Linked DNA regions of Homo sapiens: all the other regions are linked to region 1. Evidence: promoter capture Hi-C in 16 types of primary human blood cells and fetal thymus (Javierre and others, 2016). All regions are on one chromosome and are shown on one strand. Each heading gives the region's core, a stretch centred on a gene start or on the middle of the fragment in contact. The rest is flanking DNA. Distances are from core to core; before and after follow the strand shown. Region 1 holds the start of CD80 (CD80 molecule). Region 2 has its middle 51 kb from the start of IGSF11-AS1. Region 3 has its middle 69 kb from the start of IGSF11-AS1.

What was found. Contacts are between HindIII fragments. The CHiCAGO score rates a contact against its expected background, and 5 or more counts as called.
Region 2: a contact is called between a fragment that was not itself captured here and the fragment with the promoter of CD80 in region 1, in 1 of 17 cell types (total B cells). The highest score is 6.6, in total B cells.
Region 3: a contact is called between a fragment that was not itself captured here and the fragment with the promoter of CD80 in region 1, in 1 of 17 cell types (total B cells). The highest score is 5.5, in total B cells.

What each region holds. Positions count from the first base shown.
Region 1 is chr3:119,558,167-119,561,688 of GRCh38, reverse strand. It overlaps CD80 (CD80 molecule), which reads left to right and starts at 2,075. Exons shown (of 7, transcript NM_005191.4): 1 at 2,075-2,249. LOC107986118 (a long non-coding RNA gene) reads right to left here and starts at 1,259. Exons shown (of 2, transcript XR_001740861.2): 1 at 944-1,259. RefSeq lists enhancers at 1,802-1,851, 2,622-2,681, 2,952-3,111, 3,473-3,522 and a silencer at 3,473-3,522. The HindIII fragment of the contact is 26,007 bases long and covers 1,169-3,522 here.
Region 2 is chr3:118,890,435-118,893,545 of GRCh38, reverse strand. No RefSeq gene overlaps it. Among named protein-coding and RNA genes, the nearest start is that of IGSF11-AS1, 51 kb to the left of the region's middle. The HindIII fragment of the contact is 229 bases long and covers 1,364-1,592 here.
Region 3 is chr3:118,872,164-118,875,462 of GRCh38, reverse strand. No RefSeq gene overlaps it. Among named protein-coding and RNA genes, the nearest start is that of IGSF11-AS1, 69 kb to the left of the region's middle. The HindIII fragment of the contact is 1,071 bases long and covers 1,367-2,437 here.

The sequences.
Region 1 (3,522 bases), core at 826-3,325:
GCCCAGCCTCCTTTTAAATCTTTTACTTGGTTTTGTTTTGTTTTGTTTTGTTTTCCAGTAATATAGGTATTCGGGTTCGGCTTCCTTTGCCCGTCTTCATCCATCTCACCTCCAGTGTCCAGAAATTTACCTTAGAAATCTGTGGTCCACAGGTCATGCTCCTAGACACATTGTAGGAGGAAGAGGAATTAAACACATCCCATTAGTACATAATCTTGGAAGAGAAGCCTTCTGAATTTTACAATCAGGATTGGGGAAACTCTGTAAAGTACCTTCCTGGTGTTCCTTTCTTCCAGCCTCTTTGATTAAGTCACATCAAAGCGCTAATGGCAAAGTTGTTTAATGTGTGTTTCTCCAAGGCAGGTTAGGATTTCACTGGGATTCTTAAAATTTGAGGGTGTCTGTGATCGTCAAAATTTGTATTCATGTAGTCCCTCATGAAATTTCTAAAACTCGGCTGGGTGCAGTGGCTCATGCCTGTAATCCCAGCACTTTGGGAGGCCGAGGAGGGTGGATCACAAGGTCAGGAGTTTGAGACCAGCCTGGCCAATATGGTGAAACCCCATCTCTACTAAAAATTTAAAAATTAGCCTGGCATGGTGGCACACGCCTGTAGTCCCAGCTACTCAGGAGGCTGAGGCAGAAGAATTGCTTGAACCCAGGAGGCGGAGGTTGCAGTGAGCCAAGATTGCACCACTGCACTCCAGCCTGGGCGGCAGAGAAAGACTTCATCTAAAAAAAAAAAAAGAAAATAAATTTCTAAAACTCTGTATTTCTTTGCTCTTTTAAGTTGACATCTATAACTTTCTATTACTTTAAATACCTGGAAAAAAAATCACTTCCAGTGCATTGTAATAATGTATCAAGTAGAAGTGGCTAAAATCAGTGAAAACATTTCTTTGATCTGAATAAATGTTCAAGAAAATAGAAAACATGAACTTACCTCCAATCTATGTTCCCTTTACTTGAAAATGTAATGTTGATCTACTAGAGGTAAGGCAGGAATTGTCACATCCATATTCCTTGCAACTATTCAAAATATGCATCTGAGACCAGAACAAGACACAGGTGAAGAAGGGTGCTCACTAGGCCCCTTCTGCCAATACAGAAGGAGACAGTGCAGTGGAGTCCTTTCATAGCAAGTTCTGCCTTCATGATTTCCAAAGCTTCAGTATTCCAAATCTCAGGTGAATAGGGTGGTATCCACTAAGCTCTGCCACAAACTTGTTGCTGAGATGAAGGAAGCCGCCGCTGTAGTCAGTATTTCTCACCCACACGGTTTGCTCTCTTTCTGGCTGGTGTGGGAAGGATGGCGTCTTTTTTTTTTTTTTTTTTTTGAGATGGAGTCTTGCTCTGTTACCCAAGCTGGATTGTAGTGTTGTGATCTCGGCTCACTGCAACCCATGCAAGGTGCTGTCAGGTTCCACCTGTGCAAACAAGTACACTGGTCCAGCATGGGTCAGCTGCTCACTCACAGGGGCTCCAGAATCCTACAAAGGGACACACAGGGGTGGGTGGCAACCTAGTTGGAAATGGGAGTGATGGGCATGACTAAAGTCTTCCTCATCCCACCAGAGGCGCACTCAACTGTGGCTAGGGTGACCAGAATTCACTGTCCAGCGTGGCTGGCAGGAGCCCACTCTCTGAAGATGGTGGGATTCAGAGGTGGGAGTAGAGTTGGGTGGTCCTGTGAGCTGAGCACTCTCCCAAAAGTGTCCCCTACATATGAGGTTGACAGCTTATTCCTGCAGGGACTCAGGAGTAACTCTGGGTGCTAAAACAAAACTTGAGACCAGCACAGAAACAGCCAGCCCATGAAGCTGGCCTCCCATCACACAGCAAGGCTAGCCAGATGCCCCTCACTCTTCTCGGGCACCATTCTTCTCCTCCCCTAGGCCGCCTGGTGCTCGTGGTGTTTCATGTTTGTTAGTCCATGCACGGTGGTGAGGGAGGCTGCTGTGTGATTTGCCCCAGCCACAGCCTCTACAAAAGCAACTAGAAGAAGACGGCAGCAGAGGGCGCTTCTTCAAACACCCTGTCCAACTCCTGGCACTGACAAGTACTGAGTGAACTCAAACCCTCTGTAAAGTAACAGAAGTTAGAAGGGGAAATGTCGCCTCTCTGAAGATTACCCAAAGAAAAAGTGATTTGTCATTGCTTTATAGACTGTAAGAAGAGAACATCTCAGAAGTGGAGTCTTACCCTGAAATCAAAGGATTTAAAGAAAAAGTGGAATTTTTCTTCAGCAAGTAAGTACATTTACTATTATCTTACTATGGGATAGCTTGGTAGAACTAGTTACCAGCAACCTCACTGCTTTTTAAACAAACAATACCTCTGCTACCACCTCCTGGATCCAGGCTTGCCCTCAAAGGAACCCTTAGGGTCTCATTCCCACAGGAGGCTGTGGCTTCCCGACATATTTGGAGCATCATAGTGAGAATTGTGGCCCATTATTTTAAAATATCCTAGATCCTAGCAAATATTGTTTTTGTGGGCCGTATTTGAATTTCTCAAGCCAGTAAAATTCTAGTGAAAGTGGGAAAATCGCTTGAGCTCGGGAGGTTGAGACTGTGGTGAGCTATGGTCACGCCACTGCACTCTAGCCTGTGTGACAGAGCAAGATTCTATCTTAAGAAAAACAAATTCTGGTGAATAAGTCTCTTTTAACTAATCCTGTCTAAAATGGATGATGGCTAATAAAACAATATGGCGTGGCTGGAACTCTAGCTCTAGGGTGGTCTCCAAAGAGGACACTCAAGCATTCTCTGAGCAGCACGGGGCTGTGTCCTGGTAGCAGCCTGAAGGGGTGACAGTGGAGCACAGTGTTTATTTTCATTTCTCAATTTTGACATATTTACTGGAAAAATTAATCCCTAGCCACCTCACATGACAGTACATAATTTTTTTTTTTTTTTTTTTTGAGATGGAGTCTCACTCTGTCGCCTAGGCTGGAGTGCAGTGTTGCAATCATCTTGGCTCACTGCAGCCTCCACCTCCTGGATTCAAGCAATTCTCGTGCCTCAGCCTCCCAAGTGGCTGGGATTACAGGCACCCACCACCACACCTGGCTAATTTTTGTATTTTTGGTAGAAATGGGGTTTTGCCATGTTGGCCAGGCTGGTCTGGAACTCCTGGCCTCAAGTAATCCGCCCACCTCAGCCTCCCAAAGTGCTGGGATTACAGGCGTGAGCCACCACGCCTGGCCCTGGAGTACATAATTTTGATAAGTAACGTCTGCAGTGTCTTTTTTTCCCTCCCTTTTTATGGATAGACTTTTCTGGTTATTGAGATCTCATACCCCTTTATGATATATTATTTGAGTAGAGGGTTTAAAGAATTGAGATACTTGTTTTCTTATGTTAATATGTCAAGAAAGAAGTTGTTTCATAACTTAGGTCCTGCCTTGGACAAAATACACCCTTACTGTCTGCTCTATGTTTCTTGGTATGTTCAGAAGAGGATTTGAACTTTTGCAGGTTGGCTAACAGATATGGAGGGTCCTTAGAGCTCTCCTGTTTC
Region 2 (3,111 bases), core at 229-2,728, 670 kb after region 1:
AGTACATGAAAAAATGCATTTCAAGTACTAATTTATTTAATTTTATCACACTTCTACATGGACGCTATCATCACTCATATTTTACAAGTTCAGAAACTGAGGTGGTTAAACATTTTTCCCAGACTATTCAGTAATCTGTCAGTTGCTTTTCTCAGTAGATATTTCTGTCTGACTGAACCAATGTCTAAAAAGAAAGATCTGGGATCCTCGTCGTTTTGCCTTCAAATAGCCCTCTTTTGGACAAATCACTTGTGTTAAGTAAGATGATATTCAACTTCACAGAAAAAATGCTGAGACAATAAATGCAATTCAGAGAAAAGTTGACTTGTAAATTCTATGTGTATACAGCTATTTATAGCTTTTCCTCACAGCTTCCTTGTGAAGAAGGTATTATTTCCCTATTTTAGGTAAAGGCAAGGCACAAAATTCTGACTTAATCATAAGACATTAATGATAGAGACAAGTTTATTAAACAAAGCAATAAGTATAGTGCCTACTATGTATTTAACACAGTGAGGTCAGTTGATACCTGATTAATTTTAGGAGGTCAGATTAGAATAGATAATTTAGCTTATTATAACTTACATTGAAGCCATATTTCTCTATCATCCATCAGTTGCTCCCTCAGTTTATCAGATTTGCAGCAGTTTTGCATTTGAGGCTTGGACAAGATTGTATGCCTATATATATATATATATGTATGTGTGTGTGTATATATATATATATGAATGAGCTTCAGTTGTCCATTACATTGGACAAACTACAAAATTCTCTAAGGCTCAGTTTCATCTACAAAATAGAAACAATATAATAGTTATCTTTGAGATTGTGAGTACTAAATGAAATAATGCACATAAGATGAATATCATGGTGTCTGGTGATAGTAAACACTTGATATTTGCCATTATTCGTAGTAGTTCAGAAGCTTTAAATTTCTAGGCAATAGCTATGTCATTTACACCTACTCAGTATTTCAACTCTTTTTGCCAGAAGTACTATTTGAGTGCTACTGCATATAAAATAGCAATTTGGGACATTTTTTTGTTTAAGAGAAAGGAGAAGCCTCGGTAATTATTGTCTACCCAAATACTTTCTCCTATTTCCCTTTTCCTCACATTTTGTTCCAAAATAACACACTTATCTTCTGATTACTATCAATTTCAAATCGCTGAGGATAATTAAGAGGGTGGGAGAACATCAGCATTTATAGAGCACCTACTGTATGCTAGACAGCATACTGGACACTTTGTGTATATCCCATAGAATCCTCAACACTTTCAATTTTAGTACTGTATTATGCTAATTTTACAGATGAAGGAACAGGCTTTCATGGGTTAAGTACCTTGCTCAAGGTCATAAAGCTTGTAAGATGTAGAGCCAAGGGCATTGCTCATCTGTTGCCATATACTGTCCTTCCATTAAGATAGCCAATAAATAGTAAAGGTCTTGGTACTGCCTCAAATTTGGCCTGGCATAGACAAGAGTTCTTTATTCTTTCTAGTCATTCTTTGCCCATTAAAAAAATTATTTAATAAAATTACCATCTCTGACTTATAAGACTATTAGAATAATTTTTTCCATGCGGTCAAGCTTTTTGAGTTTTTCTCCTCTTAATTTCTGCACACTCGGGGGGGTCTCACAGCCGTTTAATTCTTTCTCATCACTTTCCTAGGGCATTTGCAATTTGTGTAAAACACTAGTTCCCTTACCACCTTCAGCTCTACAGTCAGAGCTATTGCTAGGGGAGGATGCGTTTGAGGAAATTCCCGTAGGCGAGAAGTTTTGAGGGGAACACAGAGGTCTTTGAAGACATGGTGAATTTGGAGGAAATTCTACGTAGAAGGATGCCTTTTGCTACCCTGGGCCTGCACTTGAGTCCCAGCTCCGTCACTTCCTACTGACTTGAGGCAAGCTGTTTAGCCTCTCTGGGGATATAACATGGAGATTATAATTGCTACATCATAGGTCTGAGGATACCATTAGATAATGTATATAAAATGGTATAGATAAATTGTAGCTGTTACTGGTTTACTTTTTAAGTCATGTATTTGAATTTTATAAGGAGAAAAACGGAAGTTCTACTGGAGAGATTAGAGAAGACCTGAGTCTCACATACAACCAGGTTGTAACTCTTTTCTTCACCTCCCCTCTCTCAGTCATCCAGAGATCAAGGTGTGTTCACCCCTCCAACTTCACAGTGCTGATCCTGTATTATGATGTAAGTAGAGGCGAGGCTGTGATTTCTGAGCCCCAATCCCTTTAGTATAGAGATCACAACCTGAAATGCCTGTGAAGGTAAAGTAAATGAGAGAACTGGGCCAGATGGGGAGCATGGTGACTTGGAGATTTATGCCCTGCCTAAAGAGGTTAGCAGCTACTCAGCTCCCACCAAGAGTGGTCAGTAGGACTTGGGTCCAGGATGGCCAGGTCTCTTGAATCTTCAAGAGAAGCCAGAAATGCTTATTTGTATCTCTCTTGGATTGTATATGTCGGCAATGAATTTTTTTAAGTTAAATCCTGCTTAATTATACATTCCTGTGGGTCTGTGTGGCCTGTGGTCCAGTATTTACAATATCTGTTATTAAGCAGACTTGTTTCCAGCAGCTTCATGGGTGGATCCAGCTTGGAGCTCTCCTCTTCTGAATAGTATCGAGTAACAGGAAACTATGTGTCAGGTGCTGCTCTAAGCATTTTACATCTATTAAATCATTTTAATCCTCACAACCACTGTATGAGATAGGTACAAACACTATCCCATTTTGCAGATAATAACACCGAGGTACAAGTGATAAGTAACTAGCCTAAGTTTATATGGGAAGACCTGGGACCTGGATTCAAATATAGGCAACCTGGCTCCTAATTGCTATATAGTATTTTCTAATGTTTGTGCTTTCAGAAGAAAAAGAAACGGTGCATTTCTGGTAATTTTAAATTTTCAAGGAATATTTCAATGATTTAGATCAGTACACTGCTCTCCCTAGTTCTTGAAACAATCCGGGCTGACATTTTGGAAAGGAGGGGAAAAGGGCAATTCTCTCATCAGGCTTCTTGGGCAAAGCTCTTCTGAAGTAAATGGGGCTGAAAGCCCCCATTGTGTAAACTCAGCCCACA
Region 3 (3,299 bases), core at 653-3,152, 690 kb after region 1:
ACTGCTTACATCACATGGCTTTCTATTTAGGACTTAAAAGAGAAAGGAACTGCAGTTCATTTTCTCTGTGTTACACTATTTTTGATTCTCTTTGTTTTTCACCAGCTATTTTCTTCCACTCATGTGCACAGTATTTCTTTTATGAACCAGCTGCCCTGCTCATTTTAAATTGAGATTGTTTTACCCAATTATTCACCTTCTGCCTCTCTTTACAATGCTTCCTACATTGTAGCCACATTGCATTATTAAACATTTTCATGATAAGCAATTCAGAGCAGTATTCAAAATTAAAAACATTCATCCTGAGCCAAATAGGAGCTCTAGTTTATTGGAACGTGCTTTAACAATAATCTGATGTTTCTCAGAAGGTTATCAAATTCCAGTCTGAGTTTCTGGATGGTAGATCTCTTTTTAGGATCCCAGCACCTAGTTAACCTCTTCTAATTTGCCATTGGTTCTTAGCAATTTGGTTCATGCTAAAGCTTCTTTGATTTCAACAGCTGATTTTTTATTAGAAAGTTTTCCCTAACTTCTGTCTCTCTCCACACCTCTTTGAGAAATAGGAGCAAGTTTGCTTCCTACCTCATCCATTAATTCTAGGTGAACTACATTGTACTATTGTATTAATTAAAGTGGGCATTTATAATAATGCACCAAACTTAGCATTGTGTAAGTGAACAGGAAATTCTCACTATTGTTGGAAAAATTTAAAAAATATTACCCTTTGAGACACTCTCTAGGATAATCTCAAATCCTTCATTATGTGCTTCTTAAGTAAATGGCATTGCCTTAAAAGAGCTGTATTTCTTGTCTGTCCAAGTCTACCTTTTAAGTGACAAAATTGCAACAATGGTAAATGCATTGCTTCCCGTGTCCTCCAAGACTTCACAGCTCATATCTCAATACTTCAGTCTCTCAAGTGCAAAATGAGGATAATAGTTTACAGCATTTAAGATGTGAAGCACTTAGAACAGTCACTGAAACATTATTCAATGCACACTAGCCACTATCACTATTATTTGAAATGTCTCATTGTTATAAATACATATTTTAAAATGTGTGCAAAGTCAACATTGTATTTAAGACTATTGCATTCCCCCAGTGCCACAGTACCACTAATTGAATTTGTGATTTAGGTCTCTCCAGGCAGAATTCAAGGCTGTGGCTCGGCTTTAATACCATCTAGATATTGGATTCCTGACCTGACTTGTTGAGTCTTACCTATCCTGTATTCTTTTTCAATTGTCTCTGCCTACCAATTGAGATAGCCTCCGATTTTACCTGTGCTCCTCCTCCTCTTTCTCTCTCAGCCACTGGTGAGTATTTACATGAGCTAAGATTTAGGAGTGCTGTAGATCAGGAAGCTTTGTTGGCATTAGTGGCTGATTCAGTTTCCCCAGTGCCTGTCCCCTGTGGCTGTGCTGAGTGCTCTCCTGGACCCTCCTCTCTGGTCACATCCTGTTCTAAGTAATGGTCCATTCAGATGTGATCTTAGTCTCATCGTTTTAGTCCATTTGTGCTGCTAATAACAAAATACGACAGACTGGGTAATTTATAAACAATAGAAATTTATTTCTTACAGTTCTGGAGGCTGGGCAGTTCAAGATAAAGGCACCAGCATTCAGTGTCTGGTGAGGGCCTTCTTGCTGTGTCCTCACATATTTGCAGGGCCAAAAAGGCAAAAAGACCCTAAGCCACTTCCCTCCAGATCTTCTATAAGGCACTAATCTGTTTATGAGAGGAGAGCCGGAATGACTAATCATCTTCCTAAAGTCCCCACCTCATAACAACACCACCATGGGGATTAAGTTTCAACATATGAATTCTGAAAAACATTCAGACAATAGCACTTAACATTTAAAAGTTGCTTAATTTCAAGGCCAAAAATTAATCTTATGTTTCAGAATATTATTCAAAAATCCCTCACAAGCAGTTTAACCTCAATGTGATATGGAAGACCAGTGGTCATTACAAAGTATGTTGTTAGAAGTCTTTACTATTTCCCAGATGACTGGAAATATGGCCTTACACTAGAGTGACCCTATTACCAGCTCACTCAGGTTAGTCTCAGTTTATATTTGTAGCCTAGGAATTATTAATAGTGTCCCTCAATTACTCTCAGAGTGTCTTAATTTGGGCAATAAGTTTATAAGGTCACCACAGCTTGAAATGATGTCTAGTAGTCATCCTCCAAATTATTTTATGTCAGGAGTTCACAATCTAACATCAGTTTTCCGTAGATCTTCACATTCACATTACAGCTTTGTTGACTCTTTCAACATCTCTATTTTAATAGCTCTGAGACAAAACTTCAGGAAAGTTATGTTGCTTATCTTAGAAACCTAACTTTCATGGTGAAAGGATATGATGAAAATAGGAATCTCCACCACAGAAGAATAGAAAAATCTCTTCCTAGGAGATATCTTTTCCTGAAGCTTTTTTTGATTGCCCAAGACAGGAAAATAAATCTTCTGTGATTATATAAGATAATGTATACTTATCATAGGATATACATATCATATTCAAATTAATTTTGTCCTGTGACTATGCTCCTTGAAGATGGGAACCATTTTGTAATTATTTGCTTCTTGAAGGTGGTAACTATTTCATAATTATTTGTGTTTTTCCAGGCCTCACACATGGCACATAGTAGATGCTGAAAAAAGTTTGTGAATCTGAATATTGGAACTCAATTGAACTCAAGACTATTTTTATCAACACTTCTAGTGATCAAAGTTGATTAGTATATACTAGAAGTTGCTGATTATAAAACAAATTAATCTGATGTGTTATTGGTCATGCAGGCCACCCACCCAGTCTATCCTTCTATCTACTATGTGTGAAACATTCTCTTCCTTCCACTTTATGTGGAGATAGGTGAAACATTTCCTCTTTTCATTCTCTCAGTAAGTCTGATGACTCCCTATGTTCCTGATCATCTGATCCCAAGGAAACACGCTATTAGTCAATTCTCACACTGTTTTAAAGAAATACCTGAGACTGGGTAATTTATGAAGAAAGGAGGTTTAATTGACTCACAGTTCCACAGGCTGTATAGAAAGCATGACTGGGAGGTTTCAGGAAACTTACAATCATGGTGGAAGATGAAGGGGAAGCAAGGCACATCTTCCTATGGCAGAGCAGGAGAGAAAGGGGGGAAGTGTCATACTTTTAAACCATCAGATCTCATGAGAACTCACCCACTATCATGAGAACAACAAGGAGGAAATCCAGCCCCATGATCCAATCACCTCCCAGCAGGCCCCTCCCCCAACACTGGGGATTCTAATTTGACATGA